Regions from separate parts of the Homo sapiens genome. Here regions 2, 3, 4, 5, 6 and 7 are each linked to region 1. The links are contacts of gene promoters, found by promoter capture Hi-C in human tissues and cell types (Jung and others, 2019). All regions are on one chromosome and are shown on one strand. The core of a region is centred on a gene start or on the middle of the fragment in contact, and the rest is flanking DNA. Distances in the headings are between cores, read along the strand shown.

Region 1 (3,405 bases), core at 675-3,174:
GACCTGCACAGAAAATAACCCTATGACCTTCACGGTTTCAGGCAGCTGAACTACTGACTTTCTGGCTGTACCTTTCATAGGGAGGAAATCTTTTTTGTATCAGGGCCACGACATTATCCCCTCCATTCTCTTATTCTCTCTCTCTCTTTCTTCTGGTAAGAAAAGACAAAAAGGCCGGGCGTGGTGGCTCACGCCTGTAATCCCAGCACTTTGGGAGGCCGAGGCGGGCGGATCACGAGATCAGGAGATCGAGACCATCCTGGCGAACACGGTGAAACCCCGTCTCTACTAAAAATACAAAAAAAAAAAATTAGCCGGGCGTGGCGGCGGGCGCCTGTAGTCCCAGCTACTCAGGAGGCCGAGGCAGGAGAATGGCGCGAACCCGGGAGGCGGAGCTTGCAGTGAGCCGAGATGGCGCCACTGCAGTCCAGCCTGGGCGACAGAGCGAAACTACGTCTCAAAAAAAAAAAAAAAAGGCAAAAAAAGGCCGGGCGTGGTGGCTCACGCCTGTAATCCCAGCACTTTGGGAGGCCGAGGCGGGCAGATCACGAGGTCAGGAGATCGACACCATCCTGGCTAACACGGTGAAACCCCGTCTCTACTAAAAATACAAATAAAAATTAGCTGGGCGTGGTGGCGGGCGCCTGTAGTCCCAGCTACTCAGGAGGCCGAGGCAGGAGAATGGCGTGAACCCGGGAGGCGGAGCTTACAATGAGCCAGAGATGGCGCCACTGCACTCCAGCCTGGGCGACAGAGCGACACTCCGTCTCAAAACAAACAAACAAAACCAAACAAACAAAAAAATCAGATGCACAAGCAACCCACCAGGAACACTGAAAGCTGCCGAACTGCATTCAGTAAACATTCACAACCAGGTTATAATTTTCATTTTTAAAGACATGGCCATCTACCTCCCTCCAACAATTCTGTGTTCCCTTCCAAAAGGTTTCACTGATCCAGCATGAAGAGAGTGCATGTCTTTCCCCTTTGTACTCAGACCATGGGGGCCTATTCACAGCCTTAAAGGCTCCTTGTACCCCTTGATCCTGTCCCCATCATCCAAAGCATCTTGGAGACTGACATTTGTGAATACAGTTGCATATTCTAGGAAAGAGGCAAGTTCAAATGACACAGCCCCTGCCGTCTAAAAACGTACGAGGGAAAACAGAGTACTAGGCTAAGAATGCCCGCACCTTGCTTTGCTACTTGAGCGAGTCACTCAGCTGCTCTGGGCTTGAGGTCCCCTCCAAGGTCCCTGCTGGCCCTGACATTGTATGTTGCGACCCACCCCTGGTGCCGCTTCTCTTCCCACTAACTTTTTTTCCTAAATACCTCAACTGTACTTTTGTGTAAGTCCTCCAGCTGTCTTCACTTTAGTTTTGGCTCCTGGACAACTCTGCCCAAGGAAACATTTCCTCCTCTCCTCCTCTTCCTCCCAGACCAAAGCTCTAATTGTCTCTTCTGCTGCACCCTGGGTCTCCCAGGCAGGCCCCCGCCACTCAGACCACAGGTTCCAACACCTTCCAAGTCTCCAAGTTCCCAAGTCCAGTCTTTCCTCTGTTTTCTCCTCTTTTTCAGAAAACAGTGCTCTGACAGGCCCCAAATCTTCCAGTAAGTCATTACCGGCCCCCACTCCCTCTTTTGCAGCTACTGTGCCTTCCACACCCCTTTTTCTGGATTCCAAAGAGACGCAGGAGCAGGCCAGTGCTCTCCAGGCTGGAGGATCCCACAAGTTACTCTCCGACTCTGTCCCCTCCGTCCAGTTTGACCAGGGCTGCACTCCGCCCCCAACCTCCCTACAAGCCTCCTTGGCCTCGCGCCGCACCCACCTTTTGGGCCGCGGAGAAGCCCCCTCCCCAGCTCGCTCGCCGCATCGGAGAGCCCGCAGGGTTGTGGCAAGCGCGACTACGTGAGCGTCGGTGTGTCCGGGAGGCAGGGCCTGGGCTGGGTTCCCGGAGATGTCGGCGGTGGGAGGAAGACGACGAGGAGGAGGAGCCCGTTATCGCACCCGGGCGGGGCCGGCAAAGGGGCAACCCCGGCCGGAGCAAGCAGCGCGACACCAGCACCCCCGCGCGGCCGCCTGGCCTCCGCCAGCCCGGGACGGGGATCGTGCTAGGTCCCGTCGCCCTCGGTGGCCTGAGAGCCTACCAAGTGTATTTCCTCGCGTTTTATAGGGAAAATAAGGCCCGGAGAGAGACGAAGCGGCTTGTCCTTAAGCTCCAAACCCCACTACCCAACTTTGGAGAAGTCTCCAGACCTCTCGGGACCCGGGGCTGGGAACTTGTGCTAGTTTCGAAGCCAGAACAACAGGTGGTAAAGGGATCAGCCGCCGCAGCCGCAGCTCCCGGGTCACGGTCGCAGCCGGGCCCAGCAGCGCGGTGGAGCACGTGGGCCCGGGAGGCGCTTCCCAGCTGCGGTCCCTGGATCGCCCTCTCCACGCTGAAGCAACAGCTCCCTGGGGCCAGCTACCTAGAGTGTTCCAGCCCCGGTGTGCCAGTGCAAGTCGCACGGTGAAAATGTAGGTGACAGGAACCCAAAGAGGTCCCCGCTGCACGCCCTCGCCTTGTTGTCCCCAGCCCTTCCCTCGGACTCGAGACTTGGGGAGCTACGTACCGGGTTCAGCTCATAAGTCCCGAGGGCAGACGCGCCAGCCCGCGGCAGCATACGCCCTGGGGGAACAGGGACAGCTGCCGTGACGGCAGGAGCTGGGCCCGGGCTCGGGTTCGCGCCCCCCGCGGGCGGCGAAGTCCGTCCGTGCACGAGAGCTGCGCGGTCACCTCCTCCCTCCAGCAGTCACCCGGGACTCGAGCTCCCCGCGGCCGCGCTGCCCCCTTTAACTTTCCTGCCAGCTCTCGGGACCCCGGGGTCCATCCCAGGCCCCCTGCCACGTGAACGCCCCCCGCAGCCAATGGGCGCGCCCGGGACTCCAGCCGCCGACCAATGGGCGCGCAGCCACGGCGCTGGGGAGCACCGCTTCGCCACGTGATCGGCAGCGCGCCCGGAGTGATCCGGCTGCGGGCCAGGGTCTGGGAAGGGGGTGGTGGGTCGCCGTTTCATCAGAAGCCGGAGGACGGGCGCCAGGGGGCAACTTCCTACAGGAGGGCGTCCCGTTAGAATGACAGGGCTTTTGCAAAAGTCTGACACCCGTGGCACAGAGCGCCCCAGATATGGAGGGTTTCACAGGTAGGTATACTTCAGAAGAAATTTCCTGACTTGAATCGGTTATAATCGCTATCTAAATCTACAGGGCCTCCGCGATGCATATTATGCACCTTGAGATCTATAGAAAATGGTCTTAGAAAAAGAAAAAAATGATGACCTTAAAGAGTTTGAATCAGAGGCTCTTCCTTTCTTCAGTTTACATGTAACTTGATCTGAACTAGCCACTTTAGGCATGAGGCTACC
Region 2 (3,405 bases), core at 369-2,868, 930 kb before region 1:
AAGACCCTGTTGCACAATTTTAAAAACAATTAAAAAACGAGCCTAAAGAAAACACAAAAACCAATGCTAACTGTGAGACATAAATGAGGTGGTCTATTTTTTGTTAACTACCAACTAACAATTCATGGCAGAAACACAGTTTAAATGATGCTATAGCCGGGCGCTGTGGCTCACACCAGTAATCCCAACACTTTGGGAGGCTGAGGCAGGTGGATCACCTGAAGTCAGGAGTTTGAGACCAGCCCGGTCAACATGGTGAAACCCCGTCTCTACTAAAAATACAAAAATTAGCCAGGTGTGGTGCCGGGTGCCTATAATCCCAGCTACTCGGGAGGCTGAGACAGGAGAATCGCTTGAACCCCGGGGGGGCGGAGGTTGCAGTGAGCCAAGATCGCGCCATTGCTCTCCAGCCTGGGCGACAGAGCAAAACACTGTCTCAAAAAATAAATAAATAATGAAATAAGTGATGCTATAAACCTCATGTGAGGGAAGACTGTCCCAGGTACAGCTTGAAGAACCCTTGCTGTGAATAGGAGCCAAATGCGATCATTATGTTTGCAACTTGCTTGTTAGCTTGTTGCAACTCCACAGTGTAACAGAAAACTCATGAGGTTACTGTCTAATGTTGGTGGAAATATTCACATTAAAATACAACAGTTTATCACCTAAGGTATATTTTATCCCTCAAGTGGCCCGGAACACAGTGATTATTGCACCCCAATCGCACGCCCGTAGCTAAGGCCTTGCCAAGGAGAAATTCCACAATCACCTGGCCTATTTGTAAACCTGGTTTATGACATTTTGTAACAGGATATCTTGACAGTAGCATGAGGACATTTAACGAGACAAGAACATTCCCCACTGACAAAACAGATGGTTTCAGGGAACAGGATGCTGTGCTGAGTTTAATATTCTGCTGAACTGACCATTAGGGAGAAAATCCTTTGGGTCAATGCCTCTCACGGAATCCACTTATCAGATTCCTGTCCACCTGCCTGCTTTGCAGTGCAGAGTAAAGTGGGCCTTCCTTGACTCTCTTCAGGGACCAATGTGCTTGAGGCCATCATGAGGATATTCATTCTTTTTTTTTTTTTCTTGAGAGAGTCTCGCTCTGTCGCCCAGGCCGGAATGCAGTGGTGTGATCTCAGCTCCCCACTGCAACCTCTGCCTCCCAAGTTCAAGTGATTCTCCTGCCTCAGACTCCTGAGTAGCTGGGATTACAGACATGTATCACCCGGCCCAGCTAATTTTTCTATTTTTTGTAGAAACAAGGTTTCACCATGTTGGCCATGCTGGTGTCGAACTCCTGACTTCAAGTGATCCACCTGCCTCGGCCTCCCAAAGTGCTGGTATTACAGGTGTGAGGCAACGTGCCTGGCAGAGGGCTTTCATTCTTGATGGACTGCTCCATAGCCTCAGAGACAGTCGGACTTGTTTCTTCACCCAGAGCGGAGCAGACAGGCAATTTCTGTATCCACCAGGACAAATATTAGACCAACTCTTCAGTGTACAGAGAGCATCACATTTCTTATATGCTAGAATATCTGTTGGTCCAAAATATAAATAAATAGTATTGTAGCCAGCCACAGTGGCTCACACCTATAACTCCAGAGCTTTGTGGGGCTGAGGCAGGAGGTTCACTTGAGGTCAAGAGTTCGAGACCAGCCCGGGCAACATAGAGAGACACCCCCACACAGCCACCTGCCATCTCTACAAAAATTAAAATAATTAGCTGGGCATAGTAGTGTGGGCCTGTAGTCCCAACTACTTGGGAAGCTGATGTGGGTGGATCGCTTGAGCCCAGGAATTTGAGGCTGCAGTGGGCTATGACTGCATCACTGTACTCCAGCTAGACCTTGTCTCAAAAAAAAAAAAAAAAGTGCTGCAATTGACATTACTTTATCATTTGAAAAGAGGGACAGACAAGAAAGGTATTTGGCATTTACCAAGCAATTACCCAGAATCCTCATCCCATCCTACCCCACCCTTCCCCTAAAAATGTATGTATATGTTTTATACCATAAAAAATACATCTATTTGGCTCTGGAACCAGATTGCTTGGGTTCAATTACCTGATCTAGCATTTGCTCCTGATGACTCAGTGCAGAAAAGCTCTGTAACTCAGTTTCCCCAGCTGTAAAATGGGGAATGGCGACTTTACTGGGCTGCCATGAGGGTAAAGGAGGGAACGTATATTTATGAAGCATTCAGAGCAATTCATGATACATAGTAAGCTCTATATATTTGAGCTTATTATTACTGTCAGTACGATTTTCATCATCTTGCTGTTTCCAATGGGTACGATTTCTACATTCTCTTTCTTAAAGACCTTTAAATCCTTGGTATTCTCTCCACCACCACAGACAGCAGTGTCCATGTAGTTTAAATTTTCAAAGACTTCATGGATCCAATAAACATGACATTAACTAAGGGACAGTTTTCTTTCAGTGGATTGGAACCTAAAATGGCTTTTTTATTGTTATTATTGGCCAGGCTGGTCTCGAACTCCTGACTTCAAGTGATCCCCCCACCTCACCCTCCCAAAGTGTGCTGAGATTACAGGCATGAGCCACCATCCCCAGCCCTCATTCTCTTCTTTTATAAGGACACCAGTCACTGCATCTGCCCCCTCACCAGCAGCCCCCAATCCAGGATGACTCATCGTTACTTGATTACATTTAGAAAGACCACATTTCCAAATAAGGTCACATTCCTGGGTACTGAGGATTAAGATTTCAAATTTTTTCCCTGACTCAATTTTTTTTTGAGTCAGGGCCTCACCCTGTCACCCAGGCTGGAGTACAGTTATGTGATTATAGCTCACTGCAGCCTCAAACTCCTGGGCTCAAGGGATCCCCTGACCTCAGCCTTCCAAGTGTCTGAGACTACAGGTGCACACCATCATGCCCAACTAATTTTTTTGTTTTTTTTGTGTTGTTTTTTTTTTTTTGTACAGGTTAGGTCTCACTCTGTTGACCAGGCTGGTCTGACCTCAAGCGATCCTCTTGCCTTGGCCTCCCAAAGCACTGGGATTACAGGCGTTATCCCGTGCCTGACCCTCTTTCTACATCTCAATCATTGTATCATTAGCCTGAGCTGCGCATATTCCTTATTCTGCCCATCCCTGATCAATCTCCTCCTTTAACAGAACTTCCACCTCGATATGATGGGGCCTGCTGGGCACTGCAAACAGCCTAAGGAAAGTGGAAACTTTACTTAACCTTAAATTCTATTACAAAGTCTACATTGAACGTAATTTATATTTGAACTATAAAAATTTTCTGTAAGTTGACACATGACCTATAAAGGACTCTACACCCTGAAGCAACATTTTAGAAAGAAATCAATTGGTCCTTTTCTGCAGAAACCATTAACCATAGGAGAGATAAAGGAAAAACTTCAAAG
Region 3 (3,405 bases), core at 546-3,045, 900 kb before region 1:
CAATCTTTCATGCCATATGTAAAACAGACACCACCTCCTCAAGCTCATCTATAAAACGCTCTGCATTTCACCATGGAAGTGGAAACCCATTCAGGACCCCTCTCTCTGCAGCAGAGAGAGATCTTCTCTTTCTGTCGCCTATTAAACTTCCGCCTTAAGCTCACTCTTGGTGTATCTGTGTCCTAGTTTTCCATGGCCGTGAGACAACAAATCTCGGGTATTTACCCCAGAATATGATGCCGCTTCACTTTGACCATCTATTCATATTTTAGAGAAAAACCTAAACAAACAAGGCTGGGTTTGTTGAAGGCTGGCTTCACAGAAGGCTCACCAGTTAGCCAGCCTTCTTCCTGAGGGACTTGTGATGGTTGTACTCTTCGGCTTCTCCAGAAAGGAGCATGGGAGCAGTCCATGAGAGGCTGAAGACCTGCCATTCAGTGTGTGGATCTTCCCTCATTTCCCATCCTCTCTTCTCCTGGTCTATACTGGGACTGCTATCCCTGAGCTCAGAGCCTTGGGACTGAAACTGTCCTGAGTGTGAACCTCCTGACTCCCATGTGAGTAGCTGGGTGAACGGAATTTGAATCCACTCAGTTTGCAGCCCATTGCCTCATCTGTCTGCTCACAGAATATAGTGGCTTCAAGCTTTGAACCCTGTAGGTGATCTTCAGAGCAAGACAAACCAGTTTCATCAGCTGTGCCTCATACAGGCCACTGGCCTTAACTTCTTCTGTCCTGTTAGGTCAGTCACCCCCATCTGTCCTCTTCCTGTCTTCTAAGGATTTTATTGAAGTCTTTTGTCACCGATGGCTGGGGTCCCCTGCCCCTGGGCGATGGACTGGTACTAGTCAGTGGCCTGTTAGGATCCAGGTGGTCCAGTAGGAGGTGAGCAGCCGGTGAGCAAGTGAAACTTCATCTGTAGTTACAGCCGCTCTTCATTGCTCACATTACTGCCTGAACACTACCTCCCGTCAGATCAGCAGCAGCATTAGATTCGCATAGGAGCACAAACTCTATTGTAAATTACACACGTGAGGGATCTAGGTTGCAAGCTTCTTATGAGAATCTAATGCCTGTGATCTGAGGTGGAGCCGAGGCTGTGATGCTAGCGCTGGGGAGTGGCTGTAAATACAGATTAACATTAGCAGAGAGGATTTACAGCACAGAGACCAAATAAATCAACTGCTTGCAAACTCGTATCAAAACCCTATCAGTGAGTGGGAAGTGACAACCTGCATCTGGTGGCAGGCTTTATAGTGGAAAGTGAGTTGATGTGCTTCAGTTGCACAGTTGTATTTGGTGCCCTTAAAAGTATGTTTAACATGCTGGGAGGCCGAGGTGGGCGGATCACAAGGTCAGGAGTTCAAGACCAGCCTGTCCAACATAGTGAAACCCTGTCTCTACTAAAAATACAAAAAATTTGCTGGGCATGGTAGTGCATGCCTGTAGTCCCAGCTACTCGGGAGGCTGAGGCAGGAGAATCACTTGAACCCGGGAGGCGGAGCTTGCAGTGAGCCGAGATCACGCCATTGCACTCCAGCCTGGGCAACAAGAGCAAGACCCCATCACACACACACACACACACACACACACACACACACACACACACACACACAAAGGGCGTTTGAGACAATTTCAAATCTCCATACGTTCCGGATTAAAGTCAAGGCCGAATATCTTGAAATTGCCACAAAAGCACTGAAAAGCCTGGTTCCATTTCCAACACCCTGTCTTTGTGAAGCAGGATTTTTTGCAGTGATAGCGACCAAAATGAGATTATGTAGACTGGACATAAGCGGCACACTTCGGGTGTCACTGTCTCGCAATATCCCCAGATGGGACCGTCTAGTTGCAAGAAAACAAGTTCAGGGCTCCCAGTTGATTCTACAGTGGGAGAGTTGTGTAATTATTTCATTATATATTGCAATGTAATAATAATAGAAATAAAGTTCACAATAAGTGTAAAGTGCTAGAATCATCCTGAAACCATCTTCTCCTCCCCCACCCTGGTAAGTGGAAAAATTGTCTTCCATGAAACTGGTTCCTGGTGCCAAAAAAGTTGGGGCCCACTGCCTTATGGGATCATCTCCAGTTCTCTTTGCCTCTGTGGATTAATAATATTTTAATTTTGCTATCTCCATTTTAGTGGAGTTTTTGAAATAAAGATGTTAAACATATCTGGTCATTTTATTTTTAATTGGAAGTCCCACATTAACCCCTGTTACCCTTAAAAATGAAGGGCTCAGTTTTCAAATGAAAAAAATTTCTCTCGAGGTCTGTGTCTTCATTGTGCCACTAGAGGGTACTGCGACATCTGCAAGATGAAAGGCCTGGCCAGGGCAGATCTATGTTTTAAAGCCTTTTCTCTCATATGGACAAAAAATACCAGCTTAGATATGGTCATTGTGTTTTTTAGGAACTATTTTTTTTATTATTAGAAGTAGAACACTTTTTAATAATATCTTTGGAGCCTGAACCATGAATTAATATTCTTACAAATATTTACTAGATAGGAAATCTTAGCTGAGTCACTTTACTTTTCTAAGCCTGAATTCTCTCATCTGTAATAAGATAAAATATAATATATGTCATGTTTTGTAGGAGTGAAGTATTTATTACCTCCCTCGTAGGGACACAGAGTGCGTGTACAAAAAAATGCCAAAAATGACAACTTCATTAGAATAAAGATGCTTTTAAGATGATCACTTCAAAGGTCAAGGTAATTTCTGGCACAATTTTGTTTAAAAATAAATTATTGGCTGGGCACGGTGGCTTATGCCTGTAATCCCAGCAGTGTGGGAGGCCGAGGTGGGCGGATCACCTGAGGTCAGGAGTTTGAGACCAGCCTGGCCAATATGGTGAAACCCCATCTCTACTAAAAATAGAAGAATTAGCCGGGCATGGTAGTGTGCGCCTGTAGTCCCAGCTACTCACAGGGAGGCTGAGGCAGGAGAATCACTTGAACCTGGGAGGTGGAGGTTGCAGTGAGCCGAGAACACGCCACTGCACTCCAGCCTGGGTGACAGGGTGAGACTCTGTCTAAAAAAAAAAAAAAAAAAAAAAAATTATTTCTTGTCAGTCTCATGCATATTTCACTTGCATGGTAAAAAATTTTTTAAAAAAATAAGGTGAAATAATGACTACATTTTTTAAAAAATTGAAAATGGTTTTATGTGAATGTGCTCTGGAGTCTGTGAAGTGTTCTATTGTAAATGACTCACGCGAACTTGATCTCTACAAATGGAATAAAATCTTGTACACTCATTAGGTCACACCATAAACATTTCTGGGGGTGTCTGGCCAGGTCACACTAATTTCTCCTTCTATAGGAATTACCTGTGATCCTCAGAGACTACATATGTAACATCTGCATTTTTACCATGAGACAGTCTTAAGGTCTAGCTA
Region 4 (3,405 bases), core at 248-2,747, 700 kb after region 1:
CTGAGACTGGGTAATTCAAAACGAAGAGGTTTAATTGGCTCATAGTTCTACTGGATGTACAGGAAGCATGGCAGCATCAGCTTCTAGAGAGGCCTCAGGAAACTTTCAATCATGGCGGAAGGCAAAGGGGGAGTGAGGCATCTCATGGTCAGAGTAGAAACAAGAACGAGTGAGGTGGGAGGTGCTACACACTTTTAAACGACTAGATCTCCCAAGGACTCACTATCACGAGAACAGCACTAAGGTGATGGTGCTAAACCATTTATGAGAAAACTACCCCTTTAATACAATCACCTCCTAACCAGACCCCACCTCCAACACTGGGAATTACAATTCAACATGAGATTTGGGTAGGCATACAGATCCAAACCATATCAAATGCTCAGGAATAAATTAACAAAAGAAGCGCAAAACTTATAAAATGAAAATTACAAAACATTATTGAAAAATGTGAAAGAAGAGCTAAATAAATGGAAAGACATCCTATATTCATGAATGGAAAGATGTAATATTGTTAAAGTGGCAATACTCCCCAAATTGATATGGATGTTTAATGCAATCACTATCAAAATCCCAGCTGCCTTCTTTACAGAAATTGACAAGCTGATCCAAAAATTCATATGGAAATGCAAGGGACTCAGAATAGACAAAACAATTTTGAGAAAAAAGACCAGGTTCACATTTCTTAATTTCAAAGAACTACAAAAATATGAAAATCAAGACAGTGTGGAACGGGTGTAAGAATAGACACATAGATCAACGGAATAGAACTGAAATTCCAGAAATAGGTCCTGGCATGTATACAGTTAATTGATTTTTTTACTAGAGTGCCAAGACAATTCAGTGGGAGAAAGAACTATCATTTCAACCAGTGGTATTGGGTCACATGGATTATCCACATGCAAATGAATATCCACATGCAAATAGAAATTTACATGGAATAAAGCTGGATGCATATCTCACACCATATGCAAAAATTAACTAAAAGATTGATTAAAAACCTAAATTAAAGAGCTAAAACTATAAAACTCTCAGAAGAAAACACAGGTATAAACTTGCATGTCCTTAGATTAGGCAATGGTTTCTTAGACATGACACCAAAAGCATAAGCAATAAAAGAAAAATATAGATAAACTGGACATCACCAGAAGTTTAAATTTTTGTGCCTCAAAGGACACGACCAAGAGAGTGAAAAGACACTCTACAGCATGGGAGAAAATTTTTGCAAATCATGTCTGATAAGAAATTTGTATCTAGTATAAAGAACTTTTACAACTCAATAATAAAAAGGTAATAACCCAATTAAAAAGTGGCCAAAGGATCTGACATTTCTCCAAAGAAGAAACACAAACGATGAATAAGCACATGTAAAGATGGTCAACATTATTGGCCATCAGAGAAAAGAAAGTCGAAACTATTGGTATCTAGTGGGATATACCAATTCACACCACTAGAATGGCTATTATAAAAACAACAAAAAACTAATTAAAAAAAACAGATAGTAACAAGTGTTGACTGGGTACAGTGGCTCACATTTGTAATCCTAGTGTGCCCGGAATTGGTGGGTTCTTGGTCTCACTGACTTCAAGAATGAAGCCGCGGACCCTCGTGATGAGTGTTATAGCTCTTAAGGCAGTGCATCTGGAGTTGTTCTTTCCTCCCGGTGGGTTCATGGTCTCGCTGGCTTCAGGAGTGAAGCTGCAGACCTTCTCGGTGAGTGTTACAGCTCATAAAGGCAGTGTGGACCCAAAGAGTGAGCAGCAGCAAGATTTATTGCAAAGAGCCAAAGAACAAAGCTTCCACATTGTGGAAGGGGACCCAAGCGGGTTGCCACTGCTGGCTCGGGCAGCCTGCTTTTATTCTCTTATCTGGCCCTACCCACATCCTGCTGATTGGTCCATTTTACAGAGAGCGGAGTGATCTGTTTTGACAGGGCGCTGATTGGTGCGTTTATAATCCCTGAGCTAGACACAAAGGTTCTCCACCTCCCCACTAGATTAGCTAGATACAGAGTGTCCACACAAAGGTTCTCCAAGTCCCCACCAGAGTAACTAGATACAGAGTGTAGATTGGTGCATTCACAAACCCTGAGCTAGACACAGGGTGCTGATTGGTGTATTTACAATCCCTGAGCTAGACCTAAAGGTTCTCCACGTCCCCACCAGACTCAGGAGCCCAGCTGGCTTCACCCAGTGGATCCCGCACCAGGGCCGCAGATGGAGCTGCCTGCCAGTCCCGCGCCCTGCGCCTGCACTCCTCAGCGCTTGGGTGGTCGATGGGACTGGGTGCCACGGAGCAGGGAGCGGCGCTCGTCGGGGAGGCTTGGGCCAAGCAGGAGCCCACGAGGGTGGGGGAGGCTCAGGCATGGCAGGCTGCACGTCCCGAGCCCTGCCCTGCAGGAAGGCAGCTAAGGCCCTGCGAAAAATTGAGCACAGCAGCTGCTGGCCCAGGTGCTAAGCCCCTCACTGCCCGGGGCCAGCGCGGCCGGCCGGTGGCTCCAAGTGCGGGGACTGCCCAGCCCACGCCCACCCGGAACTCGCACTGGCCCGCAAACACCTTGCGCAGCCCAGGTTCCCGCCCGCGCCTCTCCCTCCACACCTCCCCGCAAGCTGAGGGAGGCGGCTCCGGCCTTGGCCAGCCCAGAAAGGGGCTCCCACAGTGCAGCGGTGGGCTGAAGTGCTCCTCAAGTGCTGCCAAAGTGGAAGCCCAGGCAGAGGAGGCGCCGAGAGCAAGCGAGGGCTGTGACGACTGCCAGCACGCTGTCACCTCTCACTAGCACTTTGGGAGTGTGAAGCGAGTGGATTGCCTGAGCTCAGGAGTTAGAGATCAGCCTGGCCAACATGGCAAAATCCCGTCTCTACTAAAAAAAAAAAAAATTAGCCAGGCGTGGTAGCACACACCTCTAGTAGCAGCTACTCGGGAGGCTGAGGCAGGAGAATCACTTGAACCTGGGAGGCAGAGGTTGAACTGAGCTGAGATCATGCCACTGCACTCCAGCCTGGGCAACAGAGCAAAACTCTGTCTCAAAAAAACAAAACAAAACAAAAACCAAAAAAAACAAAAACAAACAAAAAACCCCCAAAAATAAAAAATAAATAAAAAACCCAAAAAACAAGTGTTGGTGAGGATTTGGAGAAATCAAAACCATGATACTCTTCTGGTGAGAATGTACAATGATGCAGCTGCTTTGGAAAATAGTCTGGCAGTTCTTCAAAGTGTTAAACATAGAGTTTCCATATTATCCAACAACTCCACTCCTAGGTAGATCCTCAAGAGAAGTAAGAACATGTCCACACAAAAACTTGTACATGATCATTCCTAGCAGCATGTTCATAAAAGTCAAAAAGAGGGAAAACTCCAATGTCTATCCATCAACTGATGAAGGGACAAATAAAATGTGATATG
Region 5 (3,405 bases), core at 577-3,076, 630 kb after region 1:
ACTGACTTGAAAAACTGTCAGAATACAAATACCAACCCTCCCTCTCCATCTTCCAGTGAGACCTGGGTTTTAAGTGACTTATCCTCACGTCTCAGCCCACATGGCAGTTACTGAATAACTTCTGCAATAGCACGGGCAACATGGGTTCCTTTCAGAAATATCTCTTAAACAAACAGGCTGACACTTTAGAGCCAGACCTCCTACCAGGTCCAAAGGCAGCCCAGGGGCCTTGCACAACATGATTGCTCACAGACTCACCTTCTCCACCTCTCGGGGGAGACGGAGGGGAAGAACGCCTGCTTCATGCAACAGTCAGTATTAAATACTTAGCACAGTGCCTGGCGCAGAGGACTAAGAAAATCCTTCCATTCTTCCCCTCTTCTTTCTCCATGCCTAGGGGTCCGTTACATAGCAAATTTGAACCTAGAATTTTATCTGTACAGTAACTTTTTTGCCAGAGGGCTTGTCAGAGCAACAAACAGACATAATTAAATGGAAGTATTCTAGTAACCCTGCAAATAACAATAGCCATCATTGAGCCCCTACGTGAACCAAGTACTTTGTATACATACATTTTCATTAGTAACCCCAAAAACTTTGCAAAACTGGCCTTTTAATTCTGTTTCACAGATGAGGAACTGAAACTGGAAGTGGTTAAATTAGTTATGTTATATCCCAGAATACCTTCCACTATAAGACTAAGTACCAGAAGGCCAGGCGCAGTGGCTCACGCCTATAATCCCAGCACTTTGGGAGGCCAAGGCAGGCGGATCACGAGGTCAGGAGATCGAGACCATCCTGGCTAACACGGTGAAACCCCGTCTCTACAAAAAATACAAAAAATTAGCCGGGTGTGGTGGTGGGCGCCTGTAGTCCCAGCTACTCGGGAGGCTGAGGCAGGAGAATGGTGTGAACCCGGGAGGCAGAGCTTGCAGTGAGCCGAGATCGCACCACTGCACTCCAGCCTGGGCAAGAGAGTGAGACTCCATCTCAAAAAAAAAAAAAATTAAGTACCATTTGCTATGTACCAATCACCAATCACAGATGGAGTTTCAGTGTTTAAGCAGGAATAAAAACACAGACTTGACTCTACCACATGATTTTATGTCAGTATCTCACACAACAATCAGATTCTAAATGCCATTAGACTCAGGTGTTCCCTTTTGGTTATAGAAAAGGAAATTATAGAGGGGACAACTTAGTGAATAAGGGGTTATAGAAAGGGTTATAGAAATAGAAATCTGAATTGTGCACAAAAAGCAAGTGGAATATAAAACAGTAACTTAAAATTTCAAAAGCCTGGGTTAGTTTATGACATGGATGTATTCCAAGGGCCTGTTTTTGTAGCATCAACCACTGTGGGTTGGGGATTGGGGGAAGTGGGATGGAGCAGCTGTAAATCACTTGCTGGATTGGGTTTATTTTCTGAAGGAAATTACTTGCTGGAAAACTAGATCCTATTAATCAAAGGGATGGGTGCTTCTTGGTAGCCAGTTTTGAAGAAGTATTTTTGGATTACGTTGTCTACATTGAGTGTCTGGATGCTGTGACCTAGTTTCTCACATTAGAGGTAGCGTGTCCTATTTATAGCACCTGTCAACCTTTATCATTTGGCTAGGTTCACTTTTCTTCATTATCGTATAAGACTGTACAATAGACCTCCAAGCTGAAAGAGCACCTGACACTATACTGGAAATAATGAAAGTTGGGTCATCCATTCCCATTAAGTTGGAACGTAAGTGTCAGGTCTTCTGGTTTGCATTAGCTCTGAACACTTGGATATATAAAAAACAGTGGAAAAGGGGATGGTGTGTACGTCTTCATTTCTACCAACTACCATCTACCATACAGTGCTAATAAAACAACTTTGCATCGGACAATATGAAAGATGTTAATTTTGTTAATATGATTCTTGGCATACTGTTCCCGCCCAAGGACCCATTTATAAAATAAGTCTATTCACCTGTACTTTCATAACTCTGCCTGCAAATCAGTGGTATGTAACACAAAGTAAAAGTATAAGGTAACCGTGGTTATGAGTCATTGGGAGTATGTAGAGGCTGAAGTCAGGAAACCAGTGCTTGCCCTACAGTACAGAATTGCTTCATAACTCCAAGGCAATTCTATGAAGGCCATGTCTCTACCTTTCATCTGTCAAGTAGGAATACTCACCAGCAGCACATCCAGACGATGCTGGCTGCCATACAGTTATTTAATTTAGGACTACTTAAAAGATGTACAAGGTGATACAAATCGAACGCTTTTGGGGTCTGAGGAGAAGATGGAAGTAGAACAATGAGAATTTTAGGTGTCTAGTCTGTTAGGGTGACTGTTACCAAAACACCTGGGTTTTGATCTAGGCCCTGCTGCTTGCCGCACAGAAAGCCAATGACTGAGATGATGAGTATTGCCAAGGAAGAAGGCTTTAATAGGGTGCTGTAGTCAAGGAGATGGGAGTTCAGTCTCAAATCCATCTCCCTAACTAAAACTAGGGGTTTATATAGCAGGGAAGTAATGCGTAAAAAAACAGGAACGAGGGAGAGGCAAGGAAGCAATCATGATGATTGAGGTGTTGGGCATCTCACTGTCTGGATGTGCTGATCTGGTGAGTTTCAGTTCTATGATACGTTTTGAGAGGCCTGAGGGTTCCTTTCCTGAGGAAAGAACTAAGATAAAACAAATATAAGTTTTAAGCTTTAAGAGAAGAAGGGTCCATTTCTATGTTTATCCAAAAACAACTGTGTATGGGGCTGTTGGGTCAATTTCATAACTAGTTAGCTGAAAGGCTGTAGGATTAAAACCTCCAGCCCTGCAATCAGAAGGCCCAAGTTCATAGCTTGGTTTTACCACTTACTAGCCATGTGACCTTGAGAAGTTCCTTATTCTTCTTGGGCCTCACTTTCCTCATCATTAAAAATGAGTATACTACTACTACTACTACTACTACTACTACTACTACTACTACTACTACTACTATTTCATAGAGTTGCTTTGAGAATTAAATGAGTTAACTTGCATAGTATGTTCTTTTTTTTTTTTTTTAATCTGAAAACTGTCTTTCCATTCTGTCCCCTAAGAAAAAGTACTTGATTGGCTAGAATGGGAGATTAGAAGAAAGCATATCCATGACTGACTCAGACCCCTTAAAGAATCTGCCGGCCAGGCGCGGTGGCTCACGCCTGTAATCCCAGCACTTTGGGAGGCCAAGGCAGGCAGATCACAAGGTCAGGAGATAGAGACCATCCTGGCTAACATGGTGAAACCCCGTCTGTACTAAAAAAAATACAAAAAATTAGCCGGGTATGGTGGTGTGCACCTGTAGTCCCAACTACTCAGGAGGCTGAGGCAGGAGAATGGCGTGAACCTGGGAGGCAGAGCTTGCAGTAAGCCAAGATCGCACTACTG
Region 6 (3,405 bases), core at 385-2,884, 580 kb after region 1:
TGGACACTATGAGGTGGCTGAGCTTTTAGTAAGGCATGGGGCTTCTGTCAATGTGGCGGACTTATGGAAATTTACCCCTCTCCATGAAGCAGCAGCTAAAGGAAAGTATGAAATCTGCAAGCTCCTTTTAAAAGTATGTAGTTTAAAAAGTTATGAAATATAACTAATTTTATTTATATTTTGGTTATTACTTGAAAGTAAGTTGGGGTATGTTATTCTATTAAGAACAATACTGCTGTAGAGACTGCTCTCATTTTCTATTTCCCAGAAGACCGTTTATGTGATATGACACATAGCTTTGCGTAGTGCCTAAAGTGAATATCTGAAATGGTTTAAGTCCATGTCATAAAAATTCATCAAAGTAGGTTTTAGAAAGAGCTGAAATAGTTTGCATTGCTTGTCTAGTACTTATAGTATTAATATCAGAAAAAACTGTACAGGAGAAACAAGCTTTTCAATCAAGTTGGGTTTTTTTTCTTTGTTGGCTATTTTATTATTGTTAACTAACTCATTCACTAGTAAACATCAAATATTGTGTCTTTAAGAACTTATTGTAGTATCAGATTTTTATTAAAACATAAGATGATCTCTAAAGTTGTTCATATAGATTTTAGATACATGTAAAAGAGTGAAAACTAGTAGTTATATGAAACTAACTATAATTTATGCTCACTTAAAGTATATTTTTAAAAAACGACCAGATGTGTATTTATGAGATTTTCTTTTGCTTTTTTTTAACTACGGAAAAAAAATTGAAGTGTTTAAATAAAATTCTTCTCCCTTCACTTTTATGATATCAAATACATTCTTATGAATCTTGAGAAAAACACAATATCTGATACTCATTTTTATTATCACTGGTTGGTAAGAAATAACTTCCAAGTCATTGTGAATCCATTGTCCACCTTGACTTACAACTAATTTCCGCAGTGAGCCCATGACAGTCTGTGGCCGACCCATAATAAAAATTATTGACTTCTATTTACTTTATTTAATAGCTATTGGTAATTAAACTTTTAAAATCTATAATTTTTAATACATTTATATCTAATTTCATGATAGATGTTAAGACTTAGGATAAAAATCTTAAAAATATTACCAAACTTTATTCTTACTGATGGCCTTTAGAATTAAGTCCTTTTTTACCAGTGTGTCTTACTCTACTCTCTTCTTTTTCATACCTACTGAGTATCTTTATGTAATTGAATCTGGTCAAAATTAACATCCATGCTATTCTTCAAAGTAAAATAGGTTTCCAAAGACAACTTGGAGTCTGAGAAAAAGTGTATTATATAGGTTGTCTCAAAGATACTTAACACTCTCCCTACTTTATCATCACCATTGATCCTGAAGCTTTGACTGTATAGTATTAATAGTTAGAAAGCTGATCCATTATATTACTAAGTAGGAATTTTGCAAAGTGTTTTTCAAAATGCATATAGAGTAGATATCTTCCCCAGAGGAACAAAGGTAGAGTAAATTAATTACCTACCTACCTACCTACCTACTTACTACAGAAAATACAAACCCCATTTGGTTTTTCTTCTTTGTAGCATGGAGCAGATCCAACTAAAAAGAACAGAGATGGAAATACACCTTTGGATTTGGTAAAGGAAGGAGACACAGATATTCAGGACTTACTGAGAGGGGATGCTGCTTTGTTGGATGCTGCCAAGAAGGGCTGCCTGGCAAGAGTGCAGAAGCTCTGTACCCCAGAGAATATCAACTGCAGAGACACCCAGGGCAGAAATTCAACCCCTCTGCACCTGGCAGGTAAGCGCCCCCAGTGCCTCCAAGCCTCCTTTTCCTTTCTCGGACACCTAATACAGTTTACTAAAAGACGAAAGCCATGCTGAACACAAATGGGACTACTTAGTAAAATGCTCTTGATTGACATAGTTTTGTATAATTTCTTATTGTGAAGTCCCTCCATTATGTGATAACAGTATTAGCTTTTGAAGCAAAAAGTATTAAAACCTTAACATTTTCTGGTCCTTATTACATATGTATGTATTTTTTTTCCTTTAAGCTGACACGTTTCCTGTATTTTTTTTACTCTAAATAGCAGGCTATAATAACCTGGAAGTAGCTGAATATCTTCTAGAGCATGGAGCTGATGTTAATGCCCAGGACAAGGGTGGTTTAATTCCTCTTCATAATGCGGCATCTTATGGGGTAAGCATACTAACATTAAAATCTAGAAAACTGACCGCACGCGGTGGCTCACGCCTGTAATCCCAGCACTTTAGGAGGCCGAGGAAGGTAGATCACGAGGTCAGGAGGTCGAGACAATCCTGGCTAACACGGTGAAACCCCGTCTCTACTAAAAATACAAAAAATTAGACGGGCATAGTGGCGGGCACCTGTAGTCCCAGCTACTCGGGAGGCTGAGGCAGGAGAATGGCATGAACCCGGGAGGCGGAGCTTGCAGTGAGCCCAGATCGCGCCACTGCACTCCAGCCTGGGTGACAGAGCGAGACTCTGACTCAAAATAAATAAATAAATAAATAAAATAAAATCTAGAAAACTTCCCTGGCATTTACGACTTTATTAAATGCATACTATGCATTAAGTAAGTAGATATCTAACTAATAGCATGATTTAGCATAATTTTAATCTTTTGTTCAGAGTTTTGGTGTATCTTCCCGGCTAAGCTTAACTACCTTTTGGCCAACAGTCATGCTTTTTATTGCTTTTTGGTCTCAGCACGTTATCAAGCACAATAATAGGCATGTAATGGGTGCTCAGTTTATATTTATCAATATTGTAATATAATATATATAATGTAAAATAATATAATAAATACCAATTTCTTAATTCTACCTCAAGTATATTTTAAAAACTAGAAAAGCTGTGCAGCTGTTATACAGGCATGGAAAGTATGTTGGCTTACATTTATCATCAGCACCTTAAAAATATTCGAGTAGCAGGCACAGTGGCATGCGCCTGTAATCCCAGCCATTCGGGAGGCTGAGGTGGGAAGATCGCTTGAGCCCAGGAGTTCAAGGCCACCCTGATCAACATAGTGAGACCTCATCTAAAAAAAAAAAAAAAAAAAAAAAATTAAATGGTTGAGCAGTTGATATATATGGTTTCAGAGAGTAGGAATTACTAGCTAAAACCTCCAGGTGAAAGTCCAGAGTTTTGGACATGAAGTCCTTGCCCACGCCTATGTCCTGAATGGTAATGCCTAGGTTTTCTTCTAGGGTTTTTATGGTTTTAGGTTTAACGTTTAAATCTTTAATCCATCTTGAATTGATTTTTGTATAAGGTGTAAGGAAGGGATCCAGTTTCAGCTTTCTACATATGGCTAGCCAGTTTTCCCAGCACCATTTATTAAATAGGGAATCCTTTCCCCATTGCTTGTTTTTCTCAGGTTTGTCAAAGATCAGATAGTTGTAGATA
Region 7 (3,405 bases), core at 471-2,970, 520 kb after region 1:
ACTCAGAACTAACTTGTTCCTCTTGCTTTTTAGAAAGCTGCTTGGATTAACTTGTGATAAACATCAGACTTCATGCATACAAAGCCTTGCTATGATGTAAGACACTGATGGTAATAGTTTTTCCAGGGTTAGTTTTTAGTTTATGTGTTATCCAGAACTTTATTGTAGAATTTGTCCATAATAAATGTTTACCATCATTTCTAAATATATATGGAATGCCTATTACCCTGAACCTAAGATAGAAAATGCTGGTTTTTTGTTTTGTTTTGTTTTGTTTTTAATGCAGATAACAAGTGAGAAGGAAAGAGTTAAAAGATGTGCAAATTAGTTCAGGCCAGATGAATTGCCCCTATATGAGGCAAGGTTGGTATCTGCAGTGGTGAAATTGTGGCAGTGCCATCATAGTTCTCAGTAGTTAACTTTTTCTCTTTTTTTTCTTTTCTTTTCTATAGGTGACATGAGAATTTTTCAGATTTCAAAAAAGACATGGTTTGGCTATTTCTTAACAAGGTTAAACAGATACTTATGATATAACCCAGCAACCCCACTGCTAGATATTTACCCAAGAAAAATGAAGTTATTTGTCCATACAAAAATACTCTCTGTAAATGTTGCCAGTAGCTTTCTTCATAATCACCCAAAGACATTTGGTAACAACCCAAATGTCTGGCAGCTGGTGATTGGATAAACAAATTGAGATACATCCATATAATGGAATATAACTTAACAATAAGAAGGATCAAAGTACCGATATGTCCAACAACATGGACGAAACTTAAAAGCATTTATACTAAGTAAAAGATACTAGAATCAGAAGTTTATATATTCTGTGATTCCATTTACATGGCATTCCGTAAAATAAAACTGGGGACAGAAATCATATCCATGGTTACCATGGAGGGAGGGGGATTGGAGTAGGCGATTGATTTCAGAGGGGCCTGACTTTTTGGTGTGATAGAAATGTTTCCTGTCTTGAAGTGTAGTGTTCACACAGCTGTATAAGTTTTTCAAAACCCACAGAACCATCTGAAAAGGTGAATTTAACTATATGTAAATTATACTTCGAAAAATGAATAAGAAAAGACACAGTTTAATAGTAGTCACCCCTTATCCACAGTTTCACTTTTCAAGGTTTCAGTGACCTGTGGTCAACTGCCTCTCAAAATATTAAGTGGAAAATTCCTGAAATAAACAATTTATAAGTTTTATATGGCATGATGCTCTGAGTATGGTGATGAAATCTCACACAGACCTGCTGTATTCTGCCCAGGGCGTGAACCTTCCCTTTGTCCATAGATCCATGCTGTCTACACTCTCTGCCCGTTAGGCACTTCGTAGCCATCTCAGTGATCAGATCAGCGTCCTGCTATTGCAGCACTTGTGTGCAAGTAATCCTTACTTTACCTCATAGTGACCCAGAAGCACAAGAGTAGTGATATTGGCATATTGTTCCAATTGTTCTGTTTTATTAGAGATTATTCTTAATCTCTTACTATGCCTAGTTTATAAATTAAAATTTATAAGGGGTATGTATTATTGGAAAAAACATATATAGGGTAGGTACCGTCCGCAGTTTTAGGCATCCACTTACATAATGGGGGACCTTGGAATGTATCCCCTGTGAATAATGGGGGCTACTGTACATCTACCATATATTACAAAACACCCCCCGTGGAGACTGGGGCTGTACTATGTAACAGTGATATTTTTGTAGTGAAATATATGACAGCTGTGCTGTGTAGCTGTGTACACTAAATGGGTCAAGTTTTGCTGCCATCTGAGTTTTTAGAGCTTTTTGGGTTTCAGATTTGCAAACAAGGGAGTGTGAATTGATGGCTGTAGAAAAAGGACCTGTGATATAGAACAAAATGTAAAAACTATTGCCAAGTTGTTTTGGATCAAATAGGGAATTTACTTTTCCTGATTTAAATCACTTTTTATGCAGCAGACACTGTGATGGTAAAAAAAAAAAAAAAAAAAAAACACATACACACACACACACACACACACACACACACAAAAAAAAAAAAACAAACTAATATCCCACTTCCCCCAGCCCCTAGCTGCCATTAACACAGATAGTTGATGGCTTAAATAATAGTGGTTGTCCTGAGCTCCCAGACTGAACACATAGCATCATAACCTGCCATGCTTAGAGAGTTCCCTCCCTCCTTCCGTCTTCCTTTCCTCCTTTTTTGTTTTCTTTTTAATATATCAAAAAGTTCTTTCATGTGTACTGTGGTCACAAAGGCTGTTTTCTTTTAAAGTACCGGCACACTTTGCAGAAAGTCCCACTGGTTAACAGCTTCTAGAGGAACACCTCTTTTACCTTTTAATATCCAATTTAAAGAATGTATGTATTTGATAATACCCTCTTTTTTTGGCCGATGTGTATTTATTGAGACACCTATTGATGGCTACAATTGACACCACATCAGAAACAAGTACAAATGATTGGAAACCCTGCTAAGTGTCAGGAAATGGGATGTGTATCTTAGATGTTACTCGTACTAAGAGAGGTCATATTACTGCCTCCTGCATAAAGCTTTTACAAAGCTTTTATTATATGAGTGTTATATTGTGTTTTTGAAATGTTTTAGGACATTGATTGAGGTTTTTGTGTTGACATTTAATATATTACAATTTTTAAGACATGAAAATAATATATAAATTTTATGACATAAAATTATGACATAAAAATTTTAATATAGGATAATAGAGTTGTATTTGGGGCCTTTTACCTTTTGGATTTTTTTTTTTTTTTTTTTTGAGCAGGAGTCTTGCTCTGTTGCCCAGGCTGGAGTGCAGTGGTGCGATCTCAGCTCACTGCAACCTCTGCCTCCCAGGTTTAAGAAATTCTCTGTCTCAGCCTCCCGAATAGATGGGATTACAGGCACGTGCCACCACGCCCAGCTAATTTTTTTGTGTTTTTAGTAGAGAGGAGGTTTCACCATCTTGACCAGGCTGGTATTGAACTCCTGACCTCGTGATCCACCCTTCTGGGCCTCCAAGGCGCTGGGATTACAGGTGTGAGCCACCGCACCCGGCCTGGAATTTTTTTTCACAGCTGCTATGCAGGGGTCGGGGGGTTCATTTCCGTTTTCCTAAAGAATTGGAAAGCTTCTCAAATAATAACTTCGTAGTTTGTCTCTAGTTCCATACTTTGGTGAGCTTTTTTTCTTTTAAAAAAATGTTGTAACAAGTCTATAAAGATTAGAATTATTGAAAAAGTAACTTTCTTTTGAAAGAGCTGGTTTTTATTTACCTTCTAGTTAAAACATTACCAAAAGTTTAGAATTGTTAACCAAGTAGATAGTACAGGTTGGGTAAAATTGTTTAACTGCTTACTCTACAATTTTCAGGTACTACTTTTTATAACAATTTAGTAGAGTGTTTTTTCTCAAA

What was found. The method cuts DNA at HindIII sites, captures the fragments that hold promoters and counts their contacts. A contact is called where the count stands out against the background at its distance.
Region 2: a fragment that was not itself captured here is called in contact with the fragment with the promoter of PPP1R3B in region 1 in 1 of the 25 tissues and cell types used here (lymphoblastoid cells).
Region 3: a fragment that was not itself captured here is called in contact with the fragment with the promoter of PPP1R3B in region 1 in 1 of the 25 tissues and cell types used here (spleen).
Region 4: a fragment that was not itself captured here is called in contact with the fragment with the promoter of PPP1R3B in region 1 in 1 of the 25 tissues and cell types used here (hippocampus).
Region 5: a fragment that was not itself captured here is called in contact with the fragment with the promoter of PPP1R3B in region 1 in 1 of the 25 tissues and cell types used here (lymphoblastoid cells).
Region 6: a fragment that was not itself captured here is called in contact with the fragment with the promoter of PPP1R3B in region 1 in 2 of the 25 tissues and cell types used here (dorsolateral prefrontal cortex and mesendoderm cells).
Region 7: a fragment that was not itself captured here is called in contact with the fragment with the promoter of PPP1R3B in region 1 in 1 of the 25 tissues and cell types used here (lymphoblastoid cells).

The regions. Positions count from the first base shown.
Region 1 is chr8:9,148,734-9,152,138 of GRCh38, forward strand. It overlaps PPP1R3B (protein phosphatase 1 regulatory subunit 3B), which reads right to left and starts at 1,925. Exons shown (of 2, transcript NM_024607.4): 1 at 1,830-1,925. PPP1R3B-DT (PPP1R3B divergent transcript) reads left to right here and starts at 2,992. Exons shown (of 5, transcript NR_183348.1): 1 at 2,992-3,183. RefSeq lists enhancers at 1,325-2,273, 2,320-2,559 and silencers at 1,910-2,179, 2,680-2,929. The HindIII fragment of the contact is 27,491 bases long and covers 1-3,405 here.
Region 2 is chr8:8,221,754-8,225,158 of GRCh38, forward strand. The region is part of intron 1 of FAM85B (family with sequence similarity 85 member B); the gene reads right to left. Among named protein-coding and RNA genes, the nearest start is that of FAM85B, 4.0 kb to the right of the region's middle. The HindIII fragment of the contact is 8,646 bases long and covers 1-3,405 here.
Region 3 is chr8:8,245,686-8,249,090 of GRCh38, forward strand. No RefSeq gene overlaps it. Among named protein-coding and RNA genes, the nearest start is that of FAM85B, 20 kb to the left of the region's middle. The HindIII fragment of the contact is 4,944 bases long and covers 1-3,405 here.
Region 4 is chr8:9,845,548-9,848,952 of GRCh38, forward strand. No RefSeq gene overlaps it. Among named protein-coding and RNA genes, the nearest start is that of MIR124-1HG, 56 kb to the right of the region's middle. The HindIII fragment of the contact is 4,314 bases long and covers 1-3,405 here.
Region 5 is chr8:9,782,428-9,785,832 of GRCh38, forward strand. No RefSeq gene overlaps it. Among named protein-coding and RNA genes, the nearest start is that of MIR597, 42 kb to the left of the region's middle. The HindIII fragment of the contact is 4,527 bases long and covers 1-3,405 here.
Region 6 is chr8:9,733,312-9,736,716 of GRCh38, forward strand. TNKS (tankyrase) reads left to right here. Exons shown (of 27, transcript NM_003747.3): 15 at 1-133; 16 at 1,554-1,773; 17 at 2,066-2,175. Among named protein-coding and RNA genes, the nearest start is that of MIR597, 6.7 kb to the right of the region's middle. The HindIII fragment of the contact is 3,848 bases long and covers 1-3,405 here.
Region 7 is chr8:9,670,694-9,674,098 of GRCh38, forward strand. All of the region lies in intron 3 of TNKS (tankyrase), which reads left to right. Among named protein-coding and RNA genes, the nearest start is that of MIR597, 69 kb to the right of the region's middle. The HindIII fragment of the contact is 3,399 bases long and covers 22-3,405 here.